3 separate regions of the Homo sapiens genome follow, and all the other regions are linked to region 1. The links are contacts of gene promoters, found by promoter capture Hi-C in blood cells and fetal thymus (Javierre and others, 2016). All regions are on one chromosome and are shown on one strand. The core of a region is centred on a gene start or on the middle of the fragment in contact, and the rest is flanking DNA. Distances in the headings are between cores, read along the strand shown. Region 1 holds the start of VAPA (VAMP associated protein A). Region 2 has its middle 33 kb from the start of NAPG. Region 3 has its middle 31 kb from the start of NAPG.

Evidence for each region. The method cuts DNA at HindIII sites, captures the fragments that hold promoters and counts their contacts. A CHiCAGO score of 5 or more calls a contact.
Region 2: a contact is called between a fragment that was not itself captured here and the fragment with the promoter of VAPA in region 1, in 1 of 17 cell types (fetal thymus). The highest score is 5.8, in fetal thymus.
Region 3: a fragment that was not itself captured here is called in contact with the fragment with the promoter of VAPA in region 1 in 1 of 17 cell types (total B cells); the score reaches 7.5 in total B cells.

What each region holds. Positions count from the first base shown.
Region 1 is chr18:9,912,608-9,915,413 of GRCh38, reverse strand. It overlaps VAPA (VAMP associated protein A), which reads right to left and starts at 1,398. Exons shown (of 6, transcript NM_194434.3): 1 at 1,079-1,398. The coding sequence starts at 1,157. LOC124904245 (a long non-coding RNA gene) reads left to right here and starts at 1,466. Exons shown (of 2, transcript XR_007066284.1): 1 at 1,466-1,702; 2 at 2,081-2,481. RefSeq lists an enhancer at 279-896 and silencers at 414-1,203, 1,414-1,463. The HindIII fragment of the contact is 3,402 bases long and covers 1-2,806 here.
Region 2 is chr18:10,557,644-10,560,449 of GRCh38, reverse strand. No RefSeq gene overlaps it. Among named protein-coding and RNA genes, the nearest start is that of NAPG, 33 kb to the right of the region's middle. RefSeq lists enhancers at 1-36, 389-448. The HindIII fragment of the contact is 3,185 bases long and covers 1-2,806 here.
Region 3 is chr18:10,493,923-10,496,728 of GRCh38, reverse strand. No RefSeq gene overlaps it. Among named protein-coding and RNA genes, the nearest start is that of NAPG, 31 kb to the left of the region's middle. The HindIII fragment of the contact is 3,484 bases long and covers 1-2,806 here.

The DNA.
Region 1 (2,806 bases), core at 149-2,648:
CCTAAAGTACACTACATATTGACAAGGAAACCGACCAAAAGCCCCTGGGATTCTTCCAGGATCACCAAGTCAGACTAAAAAACTTATCACAGGCAGTACTACAAAAACCTACAAAGTTCCAGAGCTGGGTGACACCTTATCAGCCTTCTCAGGATCTGTCGGAAACCGCAAACGTAAAAGCAAAAAAGTCACACGCACTGAAGGTTTCTCAGCAGAGGAGCTCAACTAAAGGGCTAAATAAAAGCACGCGGGTGGCACACTGAAATGTCGTAGAAGGCAGGAAGCCCCGCTACTATGAACCTACAACTCTCCGTTTGCGGCTGACGCATCGCTCCTGCCCGCACGCACCTGGGTCCGTGCCAACAGCACCGGGCAGCCCTCGCCAGGCACCTCCAAGGACTCTCCACCTCCCCGGCGCGTCCTACACCTGACGGCCGAGTTCTAAACCTGGCGGAAAGGTGACAAGCGACGCCCTCCGCGGAACCCGAGGGCCGGCTGCAGCGAGCTCTCCCCGGGCCGGGGCAGGGGTCGGGGGGCGGCTCTCACTCCCAAGGGGTCCCGCGCCGTGCCCTAGCCTCCCCGCGCCGCTGACAGCCGGGAGCGGGCGACAGACGCAGCTTGCGCCACCTCCAGAGCCCACTCCCCGCCGCAGCCCAGAGCGCACGCCCTCGGGTGCCCAGCCGCCCACGCCCCGCCGAAGCACGCCGTCGGCCTCTGGGGCCAAGGACGCGGGCCCAGGCGGACCGCGGCGCGGGCGGGACCGGACGCCCAGGAGGCGCCCCCGCGGGACCGCAAGATGGCGGCGGCGGCGGCGCCAGGGCCGGGCTCCCCTCCGCCTCGCCCCGGCCGGCGCGCGCACCGCAGCGAGGGCGGGCGGGAGGGGATGAAGCGGGCCGGAGCAAGGGGCAGGCCGGCCGAGGTGGCGGCAAGAAAGCAGCCGGGAAAGGGAAGGCGCCGGGGCGTGGGGGAGGGGGCGCTCCCTCGGGCCAGGGCCGCGGACGTGCCCTCCGCGCCCCCCCGCCGACAGCCAGCGGTCCGCGCGCCCCACCCCACCCGGGGGTGTCCCCGTTCTGCCTACCTTTGAATTTGAGGTCTGTGGGCGGATCGAGGACCAGGATCTGCTCGTGCTTCGCCATGGCCCCTGAGGCGGACGCCATCGGAGAGACAGCGCAGAGCGGGGGCGCGCCCGCGGCGGCGGTTTGCTGACTGGGGGCGGGGGACGACGGCGGCGACGGCTCGGCCGAGCTCTAGGACGAGGCCAGGCTCGCGGCTCCCGAGCCCTAACGCCTGCCGCTGTGTCACCGGTTCGGTGGGCCACCCGCTGGGTCAGCAGCTCCGGGTCCCACAACTGACTCAACCCCACACCAGCCGCCACGGCCACGCGCACTTGCGAGCCTCGGCGACCCACGTGACGGCCTCTGCGTGCCTACGTGCGCGCCCCCGGCCGGGAGCTTCTAGCGCTTGTCCCGCCCTCCAGGCCGGCCTAGCGCGGCGCGGGGCTGCTGCGCCTGCGCGCTCGCGGCTTGCCGCGGCCCGGAGCGCAGCCCAGCTGTCAAGGGAACGGGTGTGGAAGGAGGCGGGGCAAAGGTCCGCGGGACCGACGCGATGCGCAGCGCAGGGCTGGAAGCGCAGTCCTCTGTCACCTTGAGCTCCGAGTACGGAACTAGAGAAACTGCTCTGGCAGCGCATCACACTCTTCCAAGTGGGAATGCCCAGTGGAAGGGACAAGTAGTAGTAGGGAAGCGCCCACTCACTACAACTCCCGGCATGCCCCCTGCGGGGCGGGGCCTTCGCCGAGGGCCTGGCCCTTTGCGGCCCTGCGCGGTGCTTGCTGGGAACTGTAGTAACGGCTGTTTGAGGGTGGAAAGGAGAGCTAGGTCTGTTGGAGGCAATGGGGTGGGGTTCGCGGACGCTAATTTTGGCTCTCAGAGCGCGTCTAGTTTGCGCTAAAAAAGAAAAAACTTGAAGACTGAAACGAGGCCCCAATGTTAGAAATATATTAATAAAATCTGCCCTGTGGAGAACAGGCGTGGGGGGATGTGTCCGTTTGCTCTAATTCTATCCAGTCCTCTGTTGGCAGGGCTGCATTCCCCGTGGTATCCAATTCAGCCTCTCCTGCTTCCTGAGTTCTCTCCAGTGATGCAAAATCAGATAAGGAAACACACCTCGTCTAGGAAGCAAGGGGAAATATGACAAAGCACACAGAAACTAGAAATAAAAGTCAAAAATCTACACCATCGAACCCAAATAATCTTCTTCAGTTTTAATGATGGACCCAAACCAAAACAGTTCTCACGTTCACATGTTAGAAACTAACTCCATCTGCATCACTTACGATAGGCTGTAGTAAACTGAACCAAATAAGAAAAATCCCAGCAGCAAACTTGCTGACAAAACTTTAGCCGATTGCCAGGGTAGTCCGGTACAGGAACGTCAAATGAAACCAATGTGCTGTAAATAAACCTTTATTGTATTTTGTGATACGGTTTGAATTTAAATCCCTAGGTAGCGCCACGAAACAAAAGACATATTGATGCTACTGCCATGGAGCAGCACAGTTTGTCTAGAAAATAAACGAGACGAAACAGCAGTCTAGAAGTAGGCACCAAATCCAAGTTTTCATGTGCGATCCAGGTATTAGGGTCCATCCAGGAACAGCCTGCTGGAATTGCTAGCCTGGCATTCACAGAAGATTGTGCCACCCACGAGGAATGTGTTTTCAGCCCTGAAATTCCTGGGAGTGAGAGGTGAAGCCAGCTGGATTTCTGGGTTGGGTGGGGACTTGGAGAACTTTTCTTACAAGAGG
Region 2 (2,806 bases), core at 143-2,642, 650 kb before region 1:
AGACCCTGACAACGAGAGGGCCTCACCGCCCCGAGAGCTCACCAGGCACAAGCACCTCCCAGGGGACGCCCCGGCTAAGCTCCCTCCCAGGAAAGCCCCCTCAAGGCTTCGGGACAGACCTAACTGGGTTCCACCATCTTCCCTCCCTCCCTGCCCGTTTCTCACGTGGGCTGCTGGCTTCCCTCCATCTCACCTTCCCTCACTCTCTGTTTCCCTTCTGTTCTGTGATCTACTCATGTCGCACCCCTTGTGGCTGCTTCTCCACAGACTTGCAATGTGCCCTCTCTGCCCTGTTTCCTTCATTCCGTCTGTAAGCAGGGGGCTCATGGCTGCTGCTGGACACACAGCCTAGGCTGGGGAGGGGCAGGGTGAGGGGGCATTTCAAGAGGGCAACATGGACAGCCTGTGGCGTCGTCACCAAGCCAAACATGCCCTGTACTTTAGAGAGCAAGGGCTGAACAAGGAAGCCTGTGGACACAGGCACGCCAGGTCACAGCTGCTCAGAGGCGAGTCAGAGATGTCTGGATGAACTTGGGCTCTAACTTCAGCAGCCTTTCCTATGCACTCTTATGGGGTCTCAGGGTTTGCTACTGCAGCCTGAGAACATCCTGGGCTTCCTTAAGCCTCCCCCTGCTCCCCACAATGGTGTCCTCCCCTCACTCCCAGGGGGAATCTCTGAGCTTAATAATTCAAGCACGCTCAACTGTGACAAGGGACCCGTGTCAGCATAGGAAATGTTATCTGCCTCTGTTGATTCCTCAGTAAAGAACCTCAAAGGCCTCAGCAAATGACTGCGTGGCCTGTGAGAACCCTTGCCACCCTCCCAGGGTGGACCTTGGATCTAAGATCCTCACAGCCCATGGCAAACTCCTCCAGGATGGAATAAAAGCCAGGGTCAGGGGTGCAAGGGGCTCCCAGGTGCACATCTAGACATGAAAGCTGCATGCCAGAGGGGGCCATTCATGCCTCACCTGAAGCCCCTGACACCTGGCTTCCACATGCTGAAGTCTGGCTCAGACACCTTGTGCTGGAGTCCCGGTAGCTCCACAGGCAGGTGGCCAGTGCAAATGTACAAGGCCCACACTCTGAAGGCCCTGCACGTGGGGATGTCTTGAAGTTCTCAACAACTATCTTAGAATTTATGTTTTGTAAGCTAAGTCTGATGGGACAGTGGAGGCTGCATCCTCCTGCAGGGTCCATCCAATAATGGGCCATTGGCAGCCCACTCCCCGACCCTGCCCAGAAAGTGCAGCTGCACTCCCCATCAGAGATGGGCACAGGGAGGGTTGGGCTGGATGCACACCTTGTGCCACGTCACAAGGCATGGGTCCACACACCCACGCAGGTCTGTTCCTGAAGCAAGACATGGAATAGCAAACGAAAAACACCATGGCAGGTCAACAGAGTGACTGCAGAGGGAGGTCTCTGCATTTCCTGCATGTTCATTTTGCACTGGGCCCTGCAAATCATGTAGCCAGCCTGGCTGTAGAGCACCCCCTAACTCCAGGGTCACTGCCGGCTGGAGTCACCCGGACCAGGATGGATTACCAGCAGCTTCTGGAAACTTTTGGCACCCCTACCATTCTAGCTCACTTGGGGAACATGTACGTGCATGTCCTGGACCAGGTGGCTGTGCAGCTCAGAGATGTCAGGGAACTCCCTCCAGATGCCTGGGCCACGCTGATTTCCACTTGTCAAGTAACTTCTGTCATCCTGTCCCTATTCTCACTGGAATTTCTGGTGACCATCAGAGCAATCTGTGCCTGTGAATTTTCTGTCTCTCCTGTAGCTGTCTACAAGGCACATGGAGGAGGTAAGGAGCTGAGAGGATGGGGACAGAGCCAGGGTCTGGTGGCCAGTGAGTCCCTGTGGGCCAGAGGTCACAGCTTGCCACTCTGTCCATATGGAGACTCTCAGCCCATGCTCACCGCAAGAACAAGGACTGAGGTGTGAGGAGCCTCATGTGTCTCAGTGGGACTATGCTAACACCTTTGCCCCACTCACTTCCTCTTCTTGTACTGTCCACTCTCTTCTCTGATAATAGGGATACATTAACTCACTCTTTTTGTCAAGAGAATCAATCAGTTAGGATCATAGCATTACATTATTTAAGATGATGCTCAGCTCTGAAAATAGGAATGGTGGTGGGGGCGCACTCAGTCCTTCAGTACTAACAAGTGCTCTTTCATCATAAACCAAAACTTTGTTGGTGTCACTTCTAATTTCATCCTATCATTTAGGTCAATGATAGAAACATACAAGCACTCAGAAAAAAAGGCCAGGTGCTTGGAAAATTCTGGTCTTTCTCCTGTATAGATCCTGGAAGAGAGGCATTCGGGCTGGCTAGGGGATTTGCTTCCCATTCTGGAGAATGAAGCCTCCAGAGACATGAACAAGAGAATGAGATGTTCCAAATAGGTTTGTTCTCAATTATCTATGACCAAAAGCATCCCAAAGACTGACAGGGTCACAATGCTAGGGCGCAAGACCGTCCTTCACTTATGGGCCTGAATCATAGGTGCAATGGTGGTTTTGTGGTCCTTCAGCTAAGGACACTTGACTTTGTTATTGCAGAACTAAGCACATATCATTGTTTTATTTAGGACTGAACCTAAATCACACTTAAAAAATGAAACATGAGTTCAATTTTTAACACAACCCTTTCAAAGATAGGATCCAACAAGCAGTCTATGTGATAAGCCACTGAAGTGCTGACTGTCCCCGTCAAGGTCTTCGGTGCAAATCATGTAAGGTGTAGATTGTTCCACTTCTTGAACTGTAAAGCCCAACCTCTAGAAAGGGCTAC
Region 3 (2,806 bases), core at 134-2,633, 580 kb before region 1:
CTATATGTCTATGTCTTCATGTCAGTACTGTAGTGTTTTGATTACTGCAGCTTTGTAATATATTTTGAAATCAGAAAAAAAAATGATGCCTCTAGATTTGTTCTTCTTTTTCAATATGTTTTGGCTATTTGGGTTTTTTTCATATAAATTTTAGGTTTGCTTTTTTCTACTTGTGTAAAAACTGTGATTGGGATATTGATAGGGATTGAATTGAATCTGTAGATCACTTTGGGTAGTATGGACATTGTAACAATATTATGCCTTGCATTCCATGAGTAAGTAATGTCTTTCTATTTAGTTGTGTCTTTTTTCCTTCATTAATGTTTTGTAGTTTTCATTGTATAAGTCTTTCATCCTTAGTTAAGTTTATTCCTAGAATAAAAAGCCAACCTACAGAAGGGGAGAAAATATTTTCAAGCCATATATCTGATATGCAGATATATAAGAAATTCCTAAAACTCAATAGCAAAAAATCCTAATAACCCAATTAAAAAGTGGGTAAAATACTTGAATAAACATTTCTCTAAAGAAGACATGCAAATGGCCAACAAGAATATGAAAAGATGCCAACATTACTAATCATCAGGGAAATCCAAATCAAAACCACAATGAGATATTACCTCACATCTGCTAAAACGGCCATTATTTTAAAAAAAGATAGCAAGTGCTGGAAAAAATGTGAGGAAATTGGAGCTCCTGTGCAAGACTGGAAGAAACATAAAATGGTGCGGCCACTATAAAAAACAGTATGGAGGTCCCTCAAAAAATTAAAAATAGAACTATCATATTATCCAGAAATCCCACTACTGGGTATATATGCAGAAAAACTGAAATCAGATCTTGAAGAGATATTTGCACTCCCCCTTTCATTGCAGTATTCAATGTGTAAGATATGAAATCAACGGAATTGTCCATCAGTGGATGAATGGATAAAGAAAATGTGATCTACGCACACAATGCAATATTTTTCAGCCCTAAAAAAGAGAAAATCTTGTGTATGTGACAACATGGACGAACCTGGAGGACATTATGTTAGGTGAAATAAGCCAGTCACAGAAGTACAAATACTGTGTTTTTCACTTATATGAGGAATCCAAAATAGCCAAACTCATAGAAATAGTGAAATGGCGGCTTCCAGGGGCTGGGGTGGAGGTACTGTTCAAAGGGTATAAAGTTTTGTTACACAAGATGAGTAGGTTCGAGATCTGCTGTACAGCATGGTGCCTATAATTAACAACATTGTCTTGTGCACTTAAAAATCTATTAAAAGGGTAGATCTCATGTGAAGTGTTCTTACTACAATAAAAAAGATGTCTTTTTAAAAAACACACTAAATGTCTTGTCATTGAACTTTTCACATTGAAAATAAGAGTATTGATTAGTTCAAAGTCATAGTGACGCTATATATCATTTTTGGGAAGATTAATAAAAAATGGAGACACATAGAAAATAGCTTGGGGTAAAAATATGAAATTTAATCTGAATTATCAGATATATAGTCTGCCACTAGAATAGAGAGTGAAGTTTATATAATGTGGAAAATATTTTTCATCAAACTTGTCCATGTGGAACCTGGGCAGTTCAGCTTGTTGTGTGGCATCACCTCTTCTCTACTGTCCATTCCTCTTGCCCAGTAGCTGACCTGCCTACACGTTAACAGGGTTTGTAAGTGCAGGAGAGGTGACTTTGGGTGGAGACATGCACCAGAAGATTGCGTTTGCTGAAGAAGTATTTTACTACTTATGAAATGAAACACATCCTCAGAAAGGCTGGCACCAAATTTGAAGCAGGAAGTCCTCATCTGAAAAAAGTGATTCTAGCTTATATTCACTTGTTCCCTCTAATAAAATCAGATATTCTACAAAGAGAGAAAATCAAACTCAAGAGTCCCTCATCAAAAGGGAAAAATGAAGATTATTTACAAAAGTAGAGACCACAAATTTAGAAAAATCAACTAAAGCTAGTGCAGTTCTCTAGGGCCAGCAACAGTGGGAACCAATATATCCAAGACCTGAAGGGGCAAAGGAGGAAGTGGCTGCTGGTAACCTAGACATGGAGGTCTTGTGGAGAGAGCCATGTGATGGGAGTAGGCACCTCTACCCTCTCCTCCTGCCAGGGATCACCCACCTACACCCTGTTAGCTGAATCCAGTTAGAAGGCAGAAGGCAAGGGAGCCGCTGCTATAGTCAGTGTGGGGAAGGAGGATGGGAGGGGGTGGAGAGGAAAACTGGAGGGACCGGTAGGAAATATCTTCATAACTTACTATGGAGAGCATCACCTGGATTTTCCTCAGAGCCTATTCTGCTGAGCTTGGCCTCCCTTCCTGAGTACTTCATCCTCAAAGTGTCGGCAAGCCTGCATATTTGAAGTGACCAGACCATGGCCCAACTCACAGCACTGCCTTGCAGATGGAAGCAATGGCTGGATGTTTGACTTGGGTGCAAACACTGGGAGAAGTTACGGAGGGTTTGAGTAAGTGATGACTAGGCAACAGATACTTTATTAACCATTTGCAAATGTGGCTTCACGCAGAAGGTAGGATAGGCCAGGGCCAATATGAGAGTAGTGTGCTAGAACAATTCACTAAAGTATACCGGTGGCCCAGAAGAGTGTGGACATGTAAGGGTACACACTTCTGCCCAGAGGATCCCTCACGTAACTGTGTGTCCACAACACACAGTTATGTGAGGAGCTTCATTAAGGACATTAGATATTTCTCCAGCTTCACCTGAGATGTTCAAATATTTGTCACTTGAAATGGAAAATCAAGTGTGTGCGTGAGTGTGCAGGAGCTCGCCTTGAAGGC